Linked DNA regions of Homo sapiens: region 2 is linked to region 1. Evidence: promoter capture Hi-C in human tissues and cell types (Jung and others, 2019). All regions are on one chromosome and are shown on one strand. The core of a region is centred on a gene start or on the middle of the fragment in contact, and the rest is flanking DNA. Distances in the headings are between cores, read along the strand shown. Region 1 holds the start of TWIST1 (twist family bHLH transcription factor 1). Region 2 holds the start of LOC107986773 (a long non-coding RNA gene).

The links. The method cuts DNA at HindIII sites, captures the fragments that hold promoters and counts their contacts. A contact is called where the count stands out against the background at its distance.
Region 2: a fragment that was not itself captured here is called in contact with the fragment with the promoter of TWIST1 in region 1 in 1 of the 25 tissues and cell types used here (mesendoderm cells).

Annotation. Positions count from the first base shown.
Region 1 is chr7:19,113,898-19,121,690 of GRCh38, forward strand. It overlaps TWIST1 (twist family bHLH transcription factor 1), which reads right to left and starts at 3,739. Exons shown (of 2, transcript NM_000474.4): 1 at 2,774-3,739; 2 at 1,571-2,234. The coding sequence starts at 3,424. The coding sequence ends at 2,816. RefSeq lists enhancers at 2,746-3,005, 3,029-3,812, 4,886-5,749. The HindIII fragment of the contact is 7,370 bases long and covers 1-7,069 here.
Region 2 is chr7:19,297,558-19,305,350 of GRCh38, forward strand. LOC107986773 (a long non-coding RNA gene) reads left to right here and starts at 2,167. Exons shown (of 3, transcript XR_001745109.2): 1 at 2,167-3,122; 2 at 6,844-6,909. The HindIII fragment of the contact is 4,820 bases long and covers 1,407-6,226 here.

The sequences.
Region 1 (7,793 bases), core at 2,489-4,988:
CTCCATCCTGGTGTACCTTAAGAAATCTGAAATATCAAATAGTCAGACCAAGCTAGTGAACAAGGAGACTCCCCATGAATAATTTAGAAAATGGAGGTGGTTGGATGATACATACAAAAAAGAATTACCAACCTAATGCTTTCCCTCATCCTCCTAGGGCACCCTCCTTACATTTCTAACCTGCCTTACACACAACACACACACACCCCCAACAAATACACCAACACATAATCGCCTTCCCTTTCTGTTATTTGCTAAAGGACTATCAAAATAAAAAAATAATAATACTTCTCCAAGCTTTCACTAACCTTTTAATACAAGTCAATGCTGCAGACTCCTTATTGTAAAATATAGTCTGAAATATTAACAATAAATTCATAATATTCTTATGTCAGCATTCTATGGTGCTGTGTGAAGAAGAAAACAAAAACCTTCAGGCAATAAAATAACTTTGACCTGAGCTAAGCAAAAACGATCTGTTTGGATACATACACTTATTAGTCATTGTTTGAAACAGGCACCAAAATGATTTTCCAGTTTGAAAGCTTCCCCAGTTACACTTGGATGCAGTAAATCGGATGTAAAAGCTAAGAACTGATACAAAATCACTATTTCTAATAATGTTAATTATAAAAGCCAGTATGTTCCTGGCCCACAAATAATCAGAATGAAATAAAAAATCAAACACCCCCGTTTGCCCATTATTGTTTTACTTAACTTCAGATTGTGTGTGTGTGTATGTATGATCTCACCAGGGAAAAATTCTGTGTAATTCTGGATAAAATATAACGCTAATGAACTGACTAGTAACTGCATAGCTGTAGTATTTAAAACTGTGATTATTCCAACTGTGATTATATCCAGTTACCAAGGATACTGAAAGTTCAGGATCTTCATTTTTGTATATTATTCCACAGCCTTATATTCTTTACACATAAAAAAAGAATGATGCTTCCCAAATAGCGTCAATATAGCGATATATTAACTTTTCTTTTTAGCAAACATGACACTAAACGTCATATTCATTCATGAGAGAAGAGTTAAGCAAATTACAAATGGAATTTTCTCTTTTCTGCTGATTTACACTTTATTTTCTATGCATTTCTGGTCATTTCTATATGTGTATAGATAATTTTCATAACACTATATATGTTTTCACTGAAAAGAACCTGTTATTTAGGAATCTTCACAAAGAGTGAAGAGCATGACAAAAAGTACATAATAAGAGAATAGTGCAGGTTTTATACTCCTTATTTGCATTTAACTGTTTTAACAACTATCACCTCAAAATAAAAAGGAGGTGAATAGCAAATTTGTTAAGTTTTTGCTGTTTGGAGACAGTAAGAGATGAAGAGATGCTACTAAGCCCTCTGAATACCAAACTGGAATAATAATAAAGCTGTCTTTTAAAATAACATGCTTGTGCCTGTCAGTAGCTGCTTTATTTGAGTTTTTCATTGCTTTGTTTATATTAGTGCCCCCTCCCTCCTGGGTGCCTCTAGAATTAAACAAGCAGGTATTTACCACCAACTTAATCTTTAGTTTTAAAAATATAGACCAAACTCTAAGGTTCTCTAAATTTTTTATATTTATTTATTGCAGAAAAATATACAAAGATATTTACAAAACAATCATAAAAATATGAATGCATTTAGACACCGGATCTATTTGCATTTTACCATGGGTCCTCAATAAATAAATAGAATGTTGTTTTTTGTATTTTAAGTTTTTTTTTGTTTTTCCCCTCAGAGGAAGGATGAAAAAAAGAATTAACTGACTATGGTTTTGCAGGCCAGTTTGATCCCAGTATTTTTATTTCTAAAGGTGTTCTTATAGTTCCTCTGATTGTTACCATTTTAAAATAGAGAAAGTCCATAGTGATGCCTTTCCTTTCAGTGGCTGATTGGCACGACCTCTTGAGAATGCATGCATGAAAAAAATAAAAATAAAAACATTCTTCGTCAAAAAAAAAAAAAAAAAAAACACAAACAACTGTTCAGACTTCTATCAGAATGCAGAGGTGTGAGGATGGTGCCGCTGCCCGTCTGGGAATCACTGTCCACGGGCCTGTCTCGCTTTCTCTTTTAAAAGTGCGCCCCACGCCCTGTTTCTTTGAATTTGGATTTTGCTCTTCTAATTTCCAAGAAAATCTTTGGCATATATTTTTATTTTTAGTTATCCAGCTCCAGAGTCTCTAGACTGTCCATTTTCTCCTTCTCTGGAAACAATGACATCTGCAAAAACCCAGAGGGGGGGGGGGGAGTCGGTTATTGTTTAGGTCTCTGCGGCTGTTTTCTAAGACTAGTGAGCACTGTTCTTATCACCACCACTGAGAAATTAAGCTGAACAACCTGGAAGGATTTCAGCCCAAGGGCAAGAGGAAGTGGGTGGGTGGAAAGGAGGAGGAGGTGGAATTTGTTTTAAAACATTTGTTTTAAGGAGAACAAAAATTGAAAGCCGAAAGAAAGGGTGGCGCTGACAAAACGGTCCTTACCCGTGACCCTGGGTGTCTCTGTCTCCCCTCCTGTCACGCACACTCACGCGCACACACACCCCTCACCAGGGCGCATCCCCCTGGAGACTGCTCTCCCTAGCGGGGTCAGACCGGCCTTCCGGGGACGCTGGGGGCGCGAGGCAACGGTGCCAAGTGAGGTGGGAAGGCTGAGCGGAGAGTGGGAGAGGGGAGGAAATCGAGGTGGACTGGGAACCGCGGCCTGGCCGGCCTGCCGTCTGCCACCTGAGAGGCGAAGGGGTGCAGCGGCGCGGTCCTTACCTAGGTCTCCGGCCCTGCTGAGGGGGTGGGGGGCTCCGCCTGCTAGTGGGACGCGGACATGGACCAGGCCCCCTCCATCCTCCAGACCGAGAAGGCGTAGCTGAGCCGCTCGTGAGCCACATAGCTGCAGCTTGCCATCTTGGAGTCCAGCTCGTCGCTCTGGAGGACCTGGTAGAGGAAGTCGATGTACCTGGCCGCCAGCTTGAGGGTCTGAATCTTGCTCAGCTTGTCCGAGGGCAGCGTGGGGATGATCTTCCGCAGCGCGGCGAACGCCTCGTTCAGCGACTGGGTGCGCTGGCGCTCCCGCACGTTGGCCATGACCCGCTGCGTCTGCAGCTCCTCGTAAGACTGCGGACTCCCGCCGCCGCTGCTGCTGCCGCCGCCGCCGCCCGCGCCGCCGCCGCCGCCACAGCCCGCAGACTTCTTGCCGCGCTTGCCCTGGGCCGGGCTGCCCGGCTCGTCGCCGCCTCCGACGCCCCCACCCGCGGCTCCGCCGGGCCCCGCGCCGCCGCCCGCGCTGCGCCTGCTGCTGCGCCGCTTGCGTCCCCCGCGCTTGCCGCTCGGCGGCTGCTGCCGGTCTGGCTCTTCCTCGCTGTTGCTCAGGCTGTCGTCGGCCGGCGAGACTGGCGAGCTGGACACGTCCTGCATCATCTCTCGAGCGGCGACGCGTGGCCTCGCGGGCCCGGGGCAGAGGAGAAGAGCGGGGCGCCTCAGCCCGCCAGCTTCCCCCGCGCGCGGCGCCGGCCCGGGCGATGCGGCCCGCGGAGGAGAGAGCAGGAGGACGGACGGGAGGGACCTCCGCGGGGAGGGCGCGCGGGGGAGGCGGGGAGGGAGGCGGGAGGGGGAGGGGACGGTGTGGATGGCCCCGAGGTCCAAAAAGAAAGCGCCCAACGGCTGGACGCACACCCCGCCAGGCCTCCTGGAAACGGTGCCGGTGCTGCAGAGCCCGCGAGGTGTCTGGGAGTTGGGCGAGAGCTGCAGACTTGGAGGCTCTTATACCTCCGTGCAGGCGGAAAGTTTGGGGGCAGCAGTGTCATTGGCCTGACGTGAGGAGGAGGGACTTTTCGAAGTTTTATAGGAAAGTTTCCGCTTTCCAGTCCCCCTCCCCCGTCCCACCTCCCTTCCTCGGGGTCTAACAATTCGTCCTCCCAAACCATTCAAAAACGACCTGGCCCGGGCGGCCGGCCCCTCCACCCGCCTCCTAGCCGCCCTCCCCCTTCCCTCCCCGTCGCCTTCCTCCGGCGGGCGCGGGGCGATTTCCTTCCCCGCCGGAGCGTGCGGGCAGCGCCCCCGAACCCTAGCGCAGCCCAGGAAGCGGTCGGAGGAGACTGTCCTGGCCGCGGTGGCAGCCCCATCCGGAGTGGCTGTGACAGCAGCAATGGCAACAGCTTCTACACAGTGGGTGATGTCTCATCTCGCCCAAGAGCCCTCTAGGTCCGTGGGGCCGATTTGGGATTGCTGGGGCTGGGGGGGTGGTGTGGCGCGGGGTGGGGGGGCATGCCAAGAAAAGTGTCAACCGCGGAGCCCACCCAATGGTCAGGTAGACGAACCCCTTGGAGTTCCAAAGGCCAAACCGCGGCGGCCCAGCCCGGAGGTCCTGGGCGTTTCTGAAGACGTGGCCGCGCCGCGGGGGCTGAGGATTTGCGTCCCGGCCTGCTCTCTCGCCCTTCTGGGCCCTCCTTTCCCCTCTACAACGACCCAGTCTGACGCTCCCCAACATCCAAAGGACTACGCCTCGGAAGGTGCTCGAAAGAGGCAGAAGTTCACTCTTCGGTGGAAGGAAACCCAGTCCATGGGAAAGGCAGCAGAGCCAGAGGGGGGCAGCGCAGCGCCTTTGCTGCGGCCCTAACAGCTGGCAATGCCAACCCAAGGGAGAGACCCTGTGGCCATTTCATCCCCACCCCCAAATTAGGCTCCGCATTGTGACCTTGAAAGGCCAGCTTGTAAGAGAGTGAAGTGGGAATTTGATAGCGCCTAGACATAGGGGCTGCCCGCTCTGAGACCCCCCCCGCCCCAGCCCCCACTATCTAGGGCATCCAGTGGACAATTAGGCTTCGTGAGCCCCAATTCCAAATGCTTGGATACGCTAACATTTTAAGCATTTCTGTCTGTAAGTTAAAACGAAGAGCCCCAAAGAGGGTGTTAATGTAGATCCTGGCAAACTGGAAGCAGCAAAGTTGGTGAACCAGAAAGGAAGTCGCCTTGGATAAGAAGCCCATCTTTTGCAATGCCATACTTGTTTCCTTTTTGAAATGAATTGAGGTAAAATAACCGTTTCAGGTCCATCCCTTACATGGCAAAGTAAAAAGCTGGAGTCAGTACACAGTGTTGGGGTGGGGGCAGCGTTTGGGGGCGACGAGTTTTGTGCACCGCGCTGGAGTACCCTGCACATAAGGTCCGCTCATGGGCTTCTCAGTACGGACTCGCCGGCGGGAACAATTAATTGAGCAAAGCGCCCCTTTCTGGGCTGGAGCAAGGTTCGCGGCTGCAGATATCTCAAGCTGAAGGCAAGAGCCCAGGCGAGGCGCAGGCAGGCCACGTGGCTGTTCCCTGCTGAGACTCGCAGCTTTGGTCTTGGAAACCTCAGGGTGTGGAGCTGCTTGGGCCGACTGAAGGGTTCAGCTTTTTGGGAGAAGTGAGGGCGAGTGTTATTTCTCCAGCGAGGTGTAAACAAGACTGTGCTTTCATGGGAGGGACAAATTGCAGAGTTGATCCCTTACCATTTTTACAGAAATACTCAGAAAGTGACTACAGCTTGTCAACTGGCCTGTTTAGTGAGCCGCTGCCTTACTGTAAAATTGTCTGAAAATCAGATTCGACTTGACCTCCACTTAATTTCAGTAGCACTCTAGCAGTTCTCAAAACAGTCACCCCTGCACCCTTGCGTTTGCATCTTCCGCTACAGGATTTTATCTCTTGGAAGCGCTTAGAGAATGCGGCAGAAATTCTGCCCCACTCTCCACCAAGTGTTCTTTTTGTAAATCTGAATTTACAGTATTCTGCAATTCTTATTTAGAACGTGGCTGCAGAAATCTCGAAACCTTTTCCACTTCAGCTATTTTTTTAAAGATAAATCTTATTTTTGTTTTGTTCTTTTTTTCTCTTTTCTCAAAAATAAATAAAGAGATCGAATGATTGGACTCTTTCCTTTGTGGCCACGGATAAGTAAGACAGGAAAGTGTGGGTAAAGTGTAAAGGAAATCTTACCTGACCAAGGGGAATTTGGGAAGGGGAGGGGAGCGGACAAGCTAGAGGAGAAACCAAGTCCACAGCAGCGCAGCAGCCAGGGGTCATTAGCCAGTCCATCTTGCAAAGTCATCAGTCTCAAAGACTGGTTCTTAAACAAGTGAGCCCAGCCCTTTTCCCGGCACTAAACTTCTAGCTGATGAAGAGCTCCTGGCCATTGGGTACAGGGATCCCCGCAAGGCTCAGGCGACGCTCTGATGCCAGAATACTGAGAGGGGAATTCAAAATGAACACCTAACCAGAACCATCCTGCCCATGGACTCTTTCAGCCACAGTCACAATTGATGACTAGTTCTAAGAAGAAATGGCTCTTGAACTGTTCCGGGGAGTGGAGGATGAGACGACTTTTGAGTTCTTAAGTGGGGCTTGAATGTTACTTTTGGAGCAAAAGTAGTCCAGGAGGTACCTCTCAAAAAATGGCTGGAGCTAGATACTCCCTGCTTTGCAAACTGCAACACGCCCTGGCTGACGAGTCCAGTCTGCTCATATACAGCTCTTTCTTATCTAACATTTTACCTAACAATTTTCTTTTCCACATTTGCAAGGATGGCTCCCTTTTTACTTGTTGACAGGTCAGGTATAATTCTGGATTCTCTTATATATGCAACAATAATTGCAACTTCTGCAATGTTTAGTTTAAATTTGAAAGCTTCTTTCTAAAATCCCAATCTTGAGATCATGAAAACAATCTTAGAAATTTTCTTTTGAGGCTGAAGTTAGCCTAACTGGAAGTATGTCAGTGGGGACTACCTTCTTTGGGAATGCTAGATTAACTGGAATTCAGTCATTTTGCCTCCTTCTAAAGTAAAGTCCTCCCCAAAAAAATTTAACTGAAAAAAAAAATTTCTTTTGTACTTGGATAGTTCAAAACGATCTTTGTTTTCAAACTGCAAACTTGGCATGTTTGCAATCCTGCCTGAGGAATGTGTGCTGTGTTAAAAATTGAAACAAAAAATACTGTTAAAAGTAACAGAGTTAGAAATCTCACATTGAACATATACAATAAGTATTAAGTATCCTGGCAGTTTGAATATGCTGTGACATTCTCTTAGCAACAACCAATTATAAATACTTTTAGATACGGAAAAGAAACACACACTATAGAATGGTTAGCCAACTGGTAAATTCTGGAGTTTGGGCTTGCATAAAAGGTGAGTACCTCAATCTGTTCCTACTCTTCTTTCTCCTCAGACCTTAGATGGCCTATCACCTGTTTGTTGGCTCCGAGTTCTGAGAAATAATTTATCTGAATTGCATAAATAGTGCACAGGAGCATTCGCACGGAAGGGAGTGAAAATTAGAAAGGCTGCAATTGAGTGAATATCAGATGAGGTTGTATATCTTAGATTTCATCTTGCTTTGAACACTCCAGAGGGACTGCTGTTTAAATGAGAGAATTTTAGTAAGGTGGAATATAAAGTCATGTATGTCAACACAATAACTGTGTAAAAGCTTATTCTTCTTTCATGACCCTGGTAGCCTTAATGATGTTTGAACACCTTTCCCTATATAAAAACTCATTCTCTTTCTCTTTAAATGATGATTTGATTCATAAACTCAACTGATTCTACATTTTTCTATCTGAATATCTTTAAAAGTAAAAAAAACAAACTAAAGTTATAAAATGTGAAGTTTTCAATCCAGAAATAAAACGAAAAAGTAAAAAACACAATAAATTAGGGTGCGAACAGTACCGCAAGTGAAATTTTCAAATAAATGTTAATCTTTAAAATAGCTGACATTCTGAACTCAGCTTAAGGATGGGATGAGGAGA
Region 2 (7,793 bases), core at 2,567-5,066, 180 kb after region 1:
AGAATACTATGCAGCAATAAAAAGAATGGATCATGCCCTTTGAAAGAACTTGGATAGAACTGGAGGCCATTATCCTTAGCAAACTAATGCAGGAACAGAAAACCAAATACTGCATGTTCTCACTTATAAATGGGAGCTACATGATGGGAACACATAGACACAAAGGGGTAAACAACAGACACCGGGGCCTACCTGAGGGTAGAGAGTGGGAGGAGGGAGAGGGGCAGAAAAAATAACTATTGGGTACTAAGCTTAGTACCTGGGTCATGACATAATCTGCACAACAAACCCTTGTGACAAAAGTTTACCTACATAACAAACCTGCATATGTACCCTGAACCTAAAATTAAAGTTAAGAAAAATGTACTGCACATTGCAGAATTGCTAAGAGAATAAATTTCAAATGTTCTCACCACAAAAGATGTTAAATATTTGGGTTGGTGCATATATTAATTAGCTAGATTCAATGATTACACATTGTATTCATAAATCATAACATCACTTTGTACCCCATAAATATATACAATTATAAATTGTCAATTTACAATAAAAATGTTCAAACTTAATGCCATAAAAATATGACAAAAAGATTCATACCAACAAATTTCACAAAAAAGAATTAGAATATTTTACAAAATCATGGATTTCTGGTTACTGTTGATGGTATCTGGAGGTCTGGCGTCACTGTGCCTGCATTTCTAAACATCACTGATTGCTAGAGCTGAGTATTGGCTGTCCATTTCCTCTGAGTGATAGTGTTTCACTTTGCCACTGTTCCTATTATTGCCTCTACCAGGCATGCTTCACCTATACCTCTAACTCCCTGGCATTCTTTGACGTTGGATATGTGACTTGTATATCCAAAGGATAAATTTCTTCTTTAATCCTATACCCAGCCCCTGACAATGCCCACTGAACCTATATTTTTAGCTTCGTCTCTCTGTCTCTCTCTATAAGTTCTCTACTCTTCAAACACAGCAGAGAACTCTTCATTTGTGTTTGCCTGATCGCATTATTTTCTTTCCTTATGATGTTTGAGGTCCCCCTGCCTCTTTTTAGTCTAATCAAACCTTCCAAATAAAAGAGTTAAGTCAAAGCAAGACAACAGACACTTTCTTAAATGCCACTGTGTGGGAGCCATTGTGTTGGACATTGCTGGAATCCGTTCCCATGAGGAGATTACAATATTTTGGGGATATAACACATAAACATTAAATTAAACATATAGTGCATTGGATAACAGATCACGAGAGTGACAGAATGGTGTAATGAGGCAGTATAACCAATGGCACCATGAAAACCTTCATGAGTTGCCCACATCATCTGCATTTCCTTTAAGCAGAGACTCTAAATCCTGGTTTTTGTCATGGAAGAGCAGCTTTATTTCAAGGTCTCACTAAAATCTCAATGTTAAAAATATATGCATTTAAATTTTAAAAATCTAAGAACACAATGTACATCTCAATTTCATGTATACATATGCACATAAAGAATACATAATGCACATTTACTACAAGTTAATGAAGATTAAAAGCATGCATCTGTAGTTCATGTTTCTTCCAATTTCTTGGTCAGTGGTTCTTCAAAGTTTTGCAATTTTAAACTTAATACTATGAAAACATTTATAGTTGTTTTCTATTAGTTCATCTAAGTAAGAACACGGTATTTTTCTCACTATATTAGAATTTCCCCAGAAGAATTTATTGCCATGAAAAAATATGTTCTAGGAAACAAGAGAAATTGTTTTTTTCTCATTTCTGTCACTGTCAGGACTTGCCTCTCCATGCTTAGACCTAGCAGAGAAATCCTGAAGATATCCTGCTGGTAAGTAAGTTAACTGTTAAATAAGGCTCTAGGGTTAAAGGTTAACAGGCATGCATTCAGCAACAACTTTTTATAATAAACATGCATCACACCAATTAACCTAAACACCCTATTATATTAATCATATTTGATTGATTTTATTTCAATTTTCAGCATTCCCACCTAAGTAAATTGCTGTTTCCCTAATATTCCTGGGAGTCAGTCATTATTATCATGTTAAAATTAGTTCCTCTATTGGTCATATTGACATCAGGCATTTAAATGATTATTTAATATAATAAATAAGGTCTAAATGGAGTTTTGCTTAAACTGAATTAATGCTGCTGCCTCTTTCTTTTTATTGATTTTCATGAATTATTTTAGTTGGTCAAAATAAAATAGCGTATAGCTAAAGATTATTGAACTAGAATATATATGGCAATTCATTTATCTCAACCAACTCGGTGATTAATTAATGTAGGTTAATTAATTAACCTTGCTGTATGGCATCCTGTGGGGTTAATGCTAACCATCCATCTATATACTTCTGCCATTGCTGAGGCAAAGGAGTAAGGCATCACTAGGAACTGGAAGATTTACAATCTTCCACAGTCATACCTACATATGGCATAGCAAAAATTATACACGTTCCTATTTGAATAGACCATTATTCCCAGCTTTAAAATAGTAGAAAAGAGGCAGAGAGAGGCGACAATGCTCCCTCCCTTTCCATAGCTTTCCCAGGTCACTACTGAAAGCTTATCAGGCCTTGGTTTAATAATCTCTGTTCCTTGGCAGTCTGCTACTTAGCAACTAAATCATTCTCCCTTTCCCCATTTGTTCTACTCACCTTGCAACCTAAAAGATGAAAAATATTTATCCCAGATGTGTAAATTAAATACGCAGGCATTCAAATTCAGTAGATTTTCATACATTAAGGGATGTCAGGAATGTAGCTAAATGCTAATGTTATCTAGGGTATCTCTGATGAAATGGGATTTAAGTGTGCTTGAGTAGCAAAACTTTATCAGATAGAATGGGATATTTTTACCAAAATAATTTATTTAATGATCTGTGCTTTCCAAATTTATAAGCAAGTATTTTTCCTTAGTAAAAAGAGTGGAGGGGTTCTTAGGGCTCCTTTTTAGTGAACAACCGACCGAAAGGATAATTCTGTAATAATTTCTTTTTTTTGAGATTGAGTTTCACCCTTGTTGACCAGGCTGGAGTGGAATGGATGATCTCGGCTCACTGCAACCTCTGCCTCCCGGGTTCAGGCAACTCTCCGGCCTCAACCTCCTGAGTAGCTGGGATTACAGGTATGCGCCTCCATACCTGGCTAATTTTGTATTTTTAGTAGAGATGGGATTTCTCCATGTTGGTCAGGCTGGTCTCAAACTCCCAACTTCAGGTGATCCACCTGCCTCGGCCACCCAAAGTGCTGGGATCACAGGTGTGAACCACCACGCCCGGCCAATTCTGTAATTCTTAAAAGCTGGTGTGTAGAATGGGAACATAGTGGGGTTTTCATTACAATAGTTTAACTTTCCCCATATTAGGAATATGTGTATGGGTTCTATTTTATTCATATAAACCTTTATTGTTTAAAAAACACAAAGAAATAAAGATTGAAAGAACATTTTATATTCACGTGTATACTCATTGCAATTTTCATCTTTTTTCAACTTCAATGTTTTTAAACTTTAAAGTTTCTCTAAACATTTGCTTGAGCAAAGAAGAATCTGCACTTTAGATATAATTACCAAAAAATGCATAATTAGAAGGAAACACTCAAATGCACAAACACATAAGTCGAGTAAAAAAATACACTGCTGATAAAGCTTTCTTATCTAAATATTTGTTAACGGTTTTGCCAGAACAACAATTACCACAAAACACACACACACACACACACAATGGAATAAGCTTTAATTTAGGACCACAGATTGTGTAAAGCAAGCTCAGATAATTACAAATTAGGCAAAATTGTGGTTAGCTTAATGAAAAGGCTCAAAAGTGTGCCAGGCCAATGGCAAAGGACCTAAATCTAAAGACAGACAAGCTTTTCTTGATTACAGTGATTACATCATGGTCATTAGAATTTAAAGTAACTAACCCAAACACAGACATCATATCTTCATTTGATAGCTGCAGTCTAGTAAATAGTGGGAAAGGATGTTATGTATGGATTAAGCTTGATGAAATGAAAACAGACATTCTTTTTGAACCTGTCTGGCAAAGAAAATAAAAACTTCAGAATCAGTCAGTAAAGTTAGCTTTTAAAGTTCAGTCTCTTTGATTGGAAGGGGTCTGCGTAGTGTTTTTGGCTATTCTTTGTTTTATAGAGAAGCCACTACAACAACTAGCTATGCATGACTCTTTCAGCATGCAGTCTCTAGTCGAGTCAGATGTTAGAGACCAACTTCTTGATACTTAGGCCAATCAGGAATTTTAAATTTTCAAAGCATGATGAGGTGCTAGCAATGGTTCAATATTTATTTTCTCATCAACTGTAATACAATTAAACCTTGTGTGAGTCTTAAGTCTCCAAATGTTGATCCTCAAACAGTCTGCAGGATCCTATCCTGCTCTGCATGTAGCAATTCATGCTGAGAAGACAAATGCTTTGCTCAGGGGAAAGAGATGCATTGGGTTACAGTTAGAGCTACATACATGAAAGCGAGCCCACTGGCCCCTGACCCTGAACCCCTACTTCACAGCATTACCTGTGGGAACACTGCCTGAAGAGCAGTATTTAGGAAGATCAGGGAAGGGAGGCAAAAAAAAAAAAAAAAAAAAAAAAGGTGGAGGTACTAGAGAAAAATAACAGCATCGAAACAGCATGTTGGAGTTTTTCTGTTTTACCTGTCTTATGGATAGAAGATCCCAGCTTGTTTTAAGAAAACACAGCCATTATTTCCTTTCTTGTGTTTTTGGATTCTGCACTAAGAAAATGAAGACATGGAAGCAGTGGACTAATACATTGACATTATATAACCTTAAGAAACAATGACATTGTATAACCTTAAGAAAAAAGTCTGAACTTTATTTATTTATTTATTTATTTATTTATTTTTATTTTTTTGAGATGGAGTCTTGCTCTGTCACCCAGGCTGCAGTGCAGTGGCTAGATGTCAGCTCACTGCAGCCTCCACCTCCCGGGTTCAAGCAATTCTGCTGCCGCAGCCTCCCGAGTAGCTGTACTACAGGCTTGCACCACCATACGTGGCTAATTTTTGTACTTTTAGTAGAGACAGGGTTTCACCATGTTGGCCAGGATGGTCTTGATCTCCTGACCTCGTGATCCACCTGCCTCAGCCTCCCAAAGTCCTGGGATTACAGGCATGAGCTACCGCGCCAGGCCAGTCTGAACCTTAGTAAGACATTCAGTGTGAGTGAATACAAGAACACTCATGTTGCAACTTCAGCATTATCATCATCAAACAGCATTTATTGAGTGTCTGGACTCACTGAGCATCCTTGAACCTACTAAGTTTAAAGTACTTAAGAAAGAAACTAAATCTCATGGTAAACACAACTCAACCAACATGAACTGATATCAGCCCCTTACATTGCGCCTTAAAGAAACCAGATTGTTTAAAGAAAAACTGTGTAGAGACTACATGTAAATCTTGTATGCTTTATCACTCTGGTAAATAAGTGGTTTCATTTTCTACTTTACTGATGTTTCAAAATGGTCAGAGGAACTCATAAAAGTTTCACAGCAATTCTCAGATAAGGTTTTATCATCAAAGACAACAAACTATAGATAAAAATTAATCTTCCAAAATGCATTTTCTTGGGTCATGTTTTCTGGAAATAAAAGTCAATGAAACTTGTAAAGTTTTACTTTGTGTGTTTTCCATGTATCTGCCACAGCCATTGCCATGAAATTTTCCTCCCAGCTGAGAAAATGTGCAAATACAATTGTATTGCTCGGGAACTTTTAAATCTATTAATATACTACAAACCTGAAACCCTAGCCTGCTCAGTTAGAAGCCAGAGAGGTGGTCATGCACAGAAGTCCCAGGAAGCAAATGTGTGTGTTCGACTTCTTTCAGGACATCATATCCCAACTGATTCTGATTTAATTGCTTGGGTAGGGACCAGGCAGAAGCATCTTATACAATCTCCCTAGGTGAATCTGATATTCACTGTGATCTGGTTTGGATTCTTTTACCTATTTCTAGCCATTAAAGCGATGTTACCAATACGTTAGTGACTGGATTTTTCAAGCAGGATAGAAATCACAATGATGATTCCACTAAGAGATAAGCTCCTGGATATCTACAAACTCTGATCACTCTCATTTCTCCTGTTAATCCCTACAGCCATGCCATGGGAGATAAGAGAGAAACAAGCTCTAAATTATATTGAATTGATTGTATAGAGCTTCTTAGACGCTAGCATTTTTCACTCACTTGGATATAGACTTCACTTAGCTGTCCTGGGGATGATGAGGCCCCAGCTTCTGGGACATTTATCACTTAAAAAAGTGGTATGTTGCTGTGACGATTAGAAAAACTGATAGCACTGTAAGGATAAAAGTCGAGTTGGATTCTAGTTCCAAGGGATTCAGCAGAGGCTGTAGGCAGATGCATTATCACACTGAAGGGAAGACAAACAAACAAACAACATCCATACATATACATAGAGTTCGAGGTAACAGGAAAGGTAAGCACTGAGGCCTGAGGAACCCAGAGCTGGTCAGGAACCCAGACAGAGTGGGCGAAGAAGCCAAACATTAAGCAAGGAAGTCAATGTATGCAGTTGATAGATAACTTGGAAACAGAGGCCATGTTCTTCCCACTTAGAAATGATATTCATGCTTCTAGAGTTGAACAATGAGATCAGGCAAGTGAATAAAAAATATCTGAAAGGGAAGACAGAGCAGTAAAAGTTGATGCCAGTTCTAGGTCATTCGTCATTCAGAATTGCATGGAGCTGGTAAAGAAAATAAGTAAATGACTCATACGCATCTGCTTACTGTTCTAGAGACTTCATATATATTGTCACACTTAATTCTCATTATAATTACAGATAAGAATTATTGCACCATTTTTCAGATGAAGAAACTGGAAATTCAGAGGTGTTAGCTTGTCCAAGGTATGTACTTATTAACGATAGAATTAAATTTGAACTATCTGCTTGTAATAAATGTTAGAAAATTTCCTCCCTTTTATTTTATTGCTTTATATTTTATTGCATTATAATTTCTGTGATCCAGAATAGAGAATCAGATAATTAACTACAAAGTGTCGGTGCTTTCTGTAACATTTGTGAAATTATACAGTTGTTTTGCTCATTTTTCATGTTTTTGTATTTTCATTTGCTGGGTTTTTTCTTCTAGCTTTGTAAACTTTGCTAGAAATATCTGAAGTGCTAATATTTGGCAATATATGTTTAAATTTTCTAACATCAAGTTTAATAACCTTAGTAGAATTAAATATATGAAAACAGAGCTTACCTTTATGATGCAGTGAGTATTTTTAACAATGACTTCAAATAGTAGCATAAGTTTACCAAGAATCTATGACTTTGGGATAACTAAATGATATGATTTCAGGTTTTGTTTAAGCAACACACAAACATGAGCTAAATTACTGAGGTTCTGTTTTATTAAAGATATAGAATTAAAATATAATTATAATTTTTTGAAATTAGTTGTCCGTATAGTAAATTATTGAACTGTTCACACATCTAAAACCTAACCTATGTGGATTAGGAACTCACCCTTTATCCAATCCTTGCTGTTTTAAAACTTTTCTAATATGCTAATATTTGAATTTAGAGAAAATTTAGAAAAATTTTTTTTTTTTGAGACAGAGTCTCGCTCTGTCACCCAGGCTGGAGTGCAGTGGAGCAATCTCGGCTCACCGCAAGCTCTGCCTCCCGGGTTCACGCCATTCTCCTGCCTCACCCTCCCGAGTAGCTGGGACTACAGGCGCCGGCCACCATGACGCCTGGCTAATTTTTCGTGTTTTTAGTAG